2 separate regions of the Homo sapiens genome follow, and region 2 is linked to region 1. The links are contacts of gene promoters, found by promoter capture Hi-C in human tissues and cell types (Jung and others, 2019). All regions are on one chromosome and are shown on one strand. Each heading gives the region's core, a stretch centred on a gene start or on the middle of the fragment in contact. The rest is flanking DNA. Distances are from core to core; before and after follow the strand shown. Region 1 holds the start of RPLP2 (ribosomal protein lateral stalk subunit P2). Region 2 holds the start of AP2A2 (adaptor related protein complex 2 subunit alpha 2).

Region 1 (2,757 bases), core at 97-2,596:
AGGAAGTTGAGGCTGCAGCGAGCTGTGATCGAGCCACTGCACTCCAGGCTGGGCGACAGAATGGGGCCCAGTCTCAAAAATTACAAAATAAGAAAAGTCCCATTGTTCCCAAGATGGTTTCCCGCCTTTACCCCAGATGTGTGACCCTGAGCAAAAAAACCTTTCTGTACCCAACTGCCTCATCTATAAAATGGGGGTAATGATAACGAGGCCACAGAAGGCGACTGTGAAGTCGAGTTCCAGTGCTTGACGTATACACACCCCAGGGTTTGCACTGCTGTTAGAGCCCAACGGGAGCTGGCGCTGCCTGCTAACACGGTAGATACCTGCATCTGACCCTGTTCCTGGTGCTCGCCCGGGATATTGGCAGGGATGGCTCCTTCTCATCTCTCAGCTCAAGCTTTCTCAGGCTGCCCAGAGGACCAAGTCTCCCTCTGTCCCTGTCCTTCGGATCGCCTCCCTATTCACCTCCTGCGTCCTCGCACAAGAACTCAAGTCCTTAGGAGGCAGGGCCAACCCTGTTCCCTCCCAGGACCCGAGAATGTAGCGGGGTCCCTGAGGTGCTGATGTCCACATGGACACCGAGGTCAGTTCCGGGCCAAAGCGGCCAGCGCAGGGGCTGACCACTCAGACCTCACTCCTCGCAGGGGTGAGCGGGCGACGCTGCCTCACGTCATTGTCCTGCCCTCCAAGGCCCGCGCTCGTCCTCTGACAGGATGCCCTGACACCGCAGTGCGGGGGCGGCCTCCCAGATAGGGCCGCAGTCGCTAAGTCCGAGGCGGCTGGCTCACCTCACTGAGCCCGGCTGGACGTGGGACCACCGGTCGCCGCGGCCAGGGAACCACCAAGGAGTCAAGGCGAGCCTACCGCCAGCAGCTTCTGCCCGGGCCCACGCGCCGTTCCGGGTAGGCCCGCGGCGCAGGCCACTTCCGGCAGCGGTGCACCATGGGACTTGCAGTTCGCTGGCAAAGGTTGAGTCCCGGGCGTGGCGGCCGCGCTCCATGTTGGGAGCTGTAGGCGCCGCGTGGCATGCTGGGGGTGCTAGGTACCGAAGGCAGATGCCGTCCCTTTGGACTCGCTTCGTCCAACGCCCCCACGAGTTTCGGTGGCCCTTCGCCCCACGCTATAAGAGCAGTCACTTCCGGAACTGCTGCCCTTCGCCTTTGCCGCGAAAAGTGCCTGACGGGGGCTGGGAAGGGGGAGGGGGAAGGAGTCAACGACTCCCTCCCCGTCGTCATTGGCTGAGCGCCTCGTGACGTCACTCTGAGGCGCCTCATGCGGCGCCGCGCACGGGTCCCAGAGCCTTCTGGGTAGCGGTTTAACCCCGCCTCTTGCGTCGGCGCCTTCCTTTTCCTCCCTGTCGCCACCGAGGTCGCACGCGTGAGACTTCTCCGCCGCCTCCGCCGCAGACGCCGCCGCGTGAGTGTGGTGACCGGGCCCGGGGTGCCGGCTGGGGACGCGGAGTCCGTGGGGATGCGGGGTGGGCGGCGGGGTATTTTTGGGACGGAGGCCTACGGGCCGAGCCACGCGCGGCCTCGCCCGGCGGCCCCGGGATGGGCCGGCAGGAGGCCGCCGGGGTAACTCCGCCGTCGCGTCCTCTCCGCCCGCCTCAGGATGCGCTACGTCGCCTCCTACCTGCTGGCTGCCCTAGGGGGCAACTCCTCCCCCAGCGCCAAGGACATCAAGAAGATCTTGGACAGCGTGGGTATCGAGGCGGACGACGACCGGCTCAACAAGGTAGCGGCCGCCCTTGCCCCGCAGCCGCCGTGGGGCCCCAGTGTCCCATACAGGCGATTCTTCTGCCTGATCCGGCCACATGCTGGAGGGTTCGGGGAGAGGCTCGTTTCAGTCTAGTTGGCGATTTCTTGGATAGAGAAGTAAGCCGGGCGGAGGTCGGGCGCGGTGGCTCACGCCTGTAGTCCCAGTACTTTGGGAGGACGAGGCAGGCGGATCACCTGAGGTCAGGGGTTCGAGACCAGCCTGGTAAACATGTCGAAACCCCATCCCTACTAAAAATACAAAAATTAGCCGGGCGTGGTGGTGGGTGCCTGTAGTCCCCCTACTTGGGAGGCTGAGGCAGGAAAATCGCTCGAACCCGGGAGATGGAGGTTGCACGGATCGTGCCACTGTACTCCAGTCTGGGTGGCAGAAGGAGACCCTGTCTCAAAAGGAAAAAAAAAAAAAAAAGCAGGGTGGGTACGAGGCAAAATCGTGATTAACAAGCTTTGGAAGTTTAATACCAGTGAGCTGCGTAAGATTGCGTTAAAAAAAAAAAAAAGCAGTCCTGGCGCATGGCTCACCCGGCTTTGGGAGGCCATGGCGAGTGGATTATTGGAGCCTTGAAGTTCGAGACTGGTCTGGAAAACATTGCAAGACCCGGTCTCCACAAAAAAAAAAAAAAAAAAAAATGGTTGGAGGCAGTGGTGCACATCTGTAGTCTCAGCTACTCATGAGGCTGATGCGGGAGAATCATTTGAGCCTTAGAGGTCAAGGCTGCACTGAGTAGTGATTGTGCCACTGCAGTCTAACAGAACCAGGCCTCGTCTCTAAAATACAATAAAAAATTAGCCAGGCTTGGTTGCTCATGCCTGTAGTCCCAGACTGAGGTGGGATAGTCACTTGAGCCCGGGAGGTCAAGGCTGCAGTGAGATCCTACCACTGCACTCCAGCCTGAAGTCAAAGTCAATTTCATTGCCAGTTTATTTTGCCAGTGTTGAAGATACCTATGAGTAGTCAACATAAGTAGTGAGATGCCCT
Region 2 (2,757 bases), core at 180-2,679, 120 kb after region 1:
ACCACTTTCTCTGCCAGGAGGTGGCACTGGGAGAGGATAGGGACTCCGGAGGGGTGTACCGTCCTCCAGGAAGCCCTCTGCTGGGTCGGCTCCGTGCCTCTGTCTTGGGAAGTGATGGACTTGGTTGCCTTATGCTGACTGGGGTCTGTCACAGATCTTGGTTTTCCCCAGGAGTTCTGGAGGCCCAGAGCCTGGGTGCGGCACCCGGTTCATTGGGGAGGGGCATGGGTCCTGTGCCCTCCTCCTGGCCGGGCTCCACCAGGGCTAAGCTCTCATCTGGGGCTGCGGAAGTGAGCCAGGGTGGGGACAAAGCCCTGGCTGGTGGGTCTGGGCCAGTTCCAGGTACAGGGTCCAGATCCCCCCACTGCAGCAGGAGGGAGCTTCCTGTTCAAAGCCATCTGGCTCTGGGAAGGACAGTGAGGCAGGGCCATCTGCTTCCCCACTCCCTGGGGTCTCTTCCTGGCCGGGACCTGGAGCTGTGCAGCCTGGCCCAGCAGGTCCTCCCTTGCGATGTGTCCACAGGGGTGGGCCTAGGCCTCCAGCTTGCAGTGGTGCAGAGGGCTGGGGAGCAGAGGGGGCCCTGGCAACAGTGGCCAAAAGTCCTGGCGCCGCCGAGGGACTAGATTCCGCAGGGGCTGCCGCCCCCGGCCGCTGTCACTGGGGTGGGGTGGGTGGTTGTTTCTCTGCAGGCCCAGGTGATGTGGAGGGGGCACCTGGGCTGCCACACAGACCCTGGGCTGGGTCGGGCACGGGGCCTGCCTCGCCCCCAGCTCAGGGACCGCAAGAGATGTGGCCCTGGCGGCTCAGGGCGGCAGGAGGGGCGGGCCAGCCCCACCGTCTCAGGATACCGTGCTAGGGGAGGGTTTCCTCGCCAAAGGCCGTCCAGCGGCTGTGACCCCTTCGCCTGGAGCCCCAGCTTCCTCCCGGCGCCGCCCTCCCGCCCCGGCCCCCGCGGAACAAACAAGGCCCTGGCCTCGGAGCTGCCCCGCCGCCCAGCGCTCACAGGTCGTTTATTCCAAGTAAGAAAACGGAGACTGCTCGGGGCAAGCTAGCGGGGCCGAGGCCCAGGACGAGGCCGTACGCGTGTGCCTGCGTGGCCGCCTCTTTTGCAGTGACCACCAACAACGACAGAGGCGGCCCGCTGCACACGCGGGTTCCCGCCCGGACCCACGCCCTTCCCGTGGGGGACGCGGGCGGCATCGCCAGCTTGGCGCGGCCCCGGGACGCGAACGCGTGGCTTCAGCGGCTCCGTCCATGGTGTCCGCCTGCAGGGGGCGCCCCCGCGCCTGCCTCGACCGGCTCGCCCCCGTGCCGCGGACGCGCGCGCGCTGCCTCACGCGACACCCGCCCCGGCCGCCGTCCGTCGTCGCTCGCGTGCGTGCGCGTGCGTGCTGGTGCGGGCGCCGTACGTGCGCGCGCGCGGCGGCCCAGAAAGCGGCGCTGGGACCCTGAGGCGGCCGTGGTTAGGCGGCTCCCCGGCGGCTCCTCCGCGGCGGTGACGGCGACCGCACTCCCCGCTTCCCGCTCCCCGCGCTCCTCCGCCCGGGTCCGCCAGCCGAGGCCGCTCCCGAGCGTCGGAAGATGCCGGCCGTGTCCAAGGGGGACGGGATGCGGGGCCTGGCGGTCTTCATCTCGGATATCCGCAACTGTGAGTGGCGGGGGCGGCGTGGGGCCGGGGCCGGGGCCGCCGGCGGAGACGGGGTCTGGGAGCGGAGGCCCGGGGCGGGGCCTCGAGGCGGGGGTGCAGGCTGGGATGCGGGCGGGGCCCGGGGCCTGAGGGTGCGGGCGGCGCTCGGGGTCTTGGGGTACCGGGTCTGGGGGTGGGGGCCAGGGTGCGGGGTGGGGGTCCAGGGTCTGGGGGTGCGGGCGGCGCTCAGAGTCTTGGGGTATCGGGTATGGGGGTGCGGGTCAGGATGCAGAGCGGGGCCCTGGGTCTGGGGGTGCGGGGTGGGGTGTCCAGGGTCTAGGGGTGCGGGGTCTAGGGGTTTAGGGCACGGCCCTTCATCCACATCTCCACTCCCGTTTGCTGGTCCGTGCGGGGGGCTGCGGCACCACCAAGGGGGTTCCGGGCCAAGACGCCCCTCCCCAGCATGATGTCACCTTGGTCTTTCTAGTACTGGAGCGTTTAACCCAGCGTTTTCCAAAACGGCGTGGATTTTAGCTTTGGGAGCAGAAATCTGGAAATCAGTGTCTTCCCAGGAAACAGCTTTGTGACCTGGGTTCTGGAGGCTTATTAACCCCTGATTAGATCTCACCTACGACGATTAAAATGACTCATTCCCGGAGGGAATCTGGACACGAGCAGCAGTCGGGGTGTGGGATGGCCTCGCTGCCTGCTGCTCCAATCACAGACCTCGTTCTCAGCCCCGTGCCTGTCCCCTCGGGGTGGGAAAAATCCACACCAAACCGTTAAACAAGCCAGGAAGGCTGGGCCTGTTAGAAGGATGTGCAGGGTGGCTGGGTGGGTGCACCGGTCCACCAATTAATTTGACTTTGGTGTGCAGAACCTCCTCTTGGCTTTCAGAGGCCATCTCCTTATTTAATTTGAGGGAGAAACAAAGCCAGTTTCCTGTCTGCTGCGTTGATTTTTTTCCTTGTTATCCAGCAAATAGTTGACTTCATGATTTTTGTTTTTCTTTTTTTTGAGACAGGGTCTTGCTCTGGCTCTCAGGCTGGAGCGCAGTAGTTCCATCACGGCGCACTCAACCTCCCACCTCAAGTGATCCTACCACCTCAGCCTCCGGAGTCACTGGGACT

The links. Contacts are between HindIII fragments. The study calls those that stand out against the background at their distance.
Region 2: the fragment with the promoter of AP2A2 here is called in contact with the fragment with the promoter of RPLP2 in region 1 in 2 of the 25 tissues and cell types used here (IMR-90 fibroblasts and hippocampus).

The regions. Positions count from the first base shown.
Region 1 is chr11:808,621-811,377 of GRCh38, forward strand. It overlaps RPLP2 (ribosomal protein lateral stalk subunit P2), which reads left to right and starts at 1,347. Exons shown (of 5, transcript NM_001004.4): 1 at 1,347-1,419; 2 at 1,614-1,737. The coding sequence starts at 1,615. It also overlaps a transcript of PIDD1 not described here. RefSeq lists enhancers at 283-572, 583-682, 833-1,022, 2,686-2,757 and a silencer at 1,393-1,662. The HindIII fragment of the contact is 1,454 bases long and covers 1,312-2,757 here.
Region 2 is chr11:924,441-927,197 of GRCh38, forward strand. AP2A2 (adaptor related protein complex 2 subunit alpha 2) reads left to right here and starts at 1,430. Exons shown (of 22, transcript NM_012305.4): 1 at 1,430-1,648. The coding sequence starts at 1,582. RefSeq lists a silencer at 1,242-1,781. The HindIII fragment of the contact is 16,179 bases long and covers 1-2,757 here.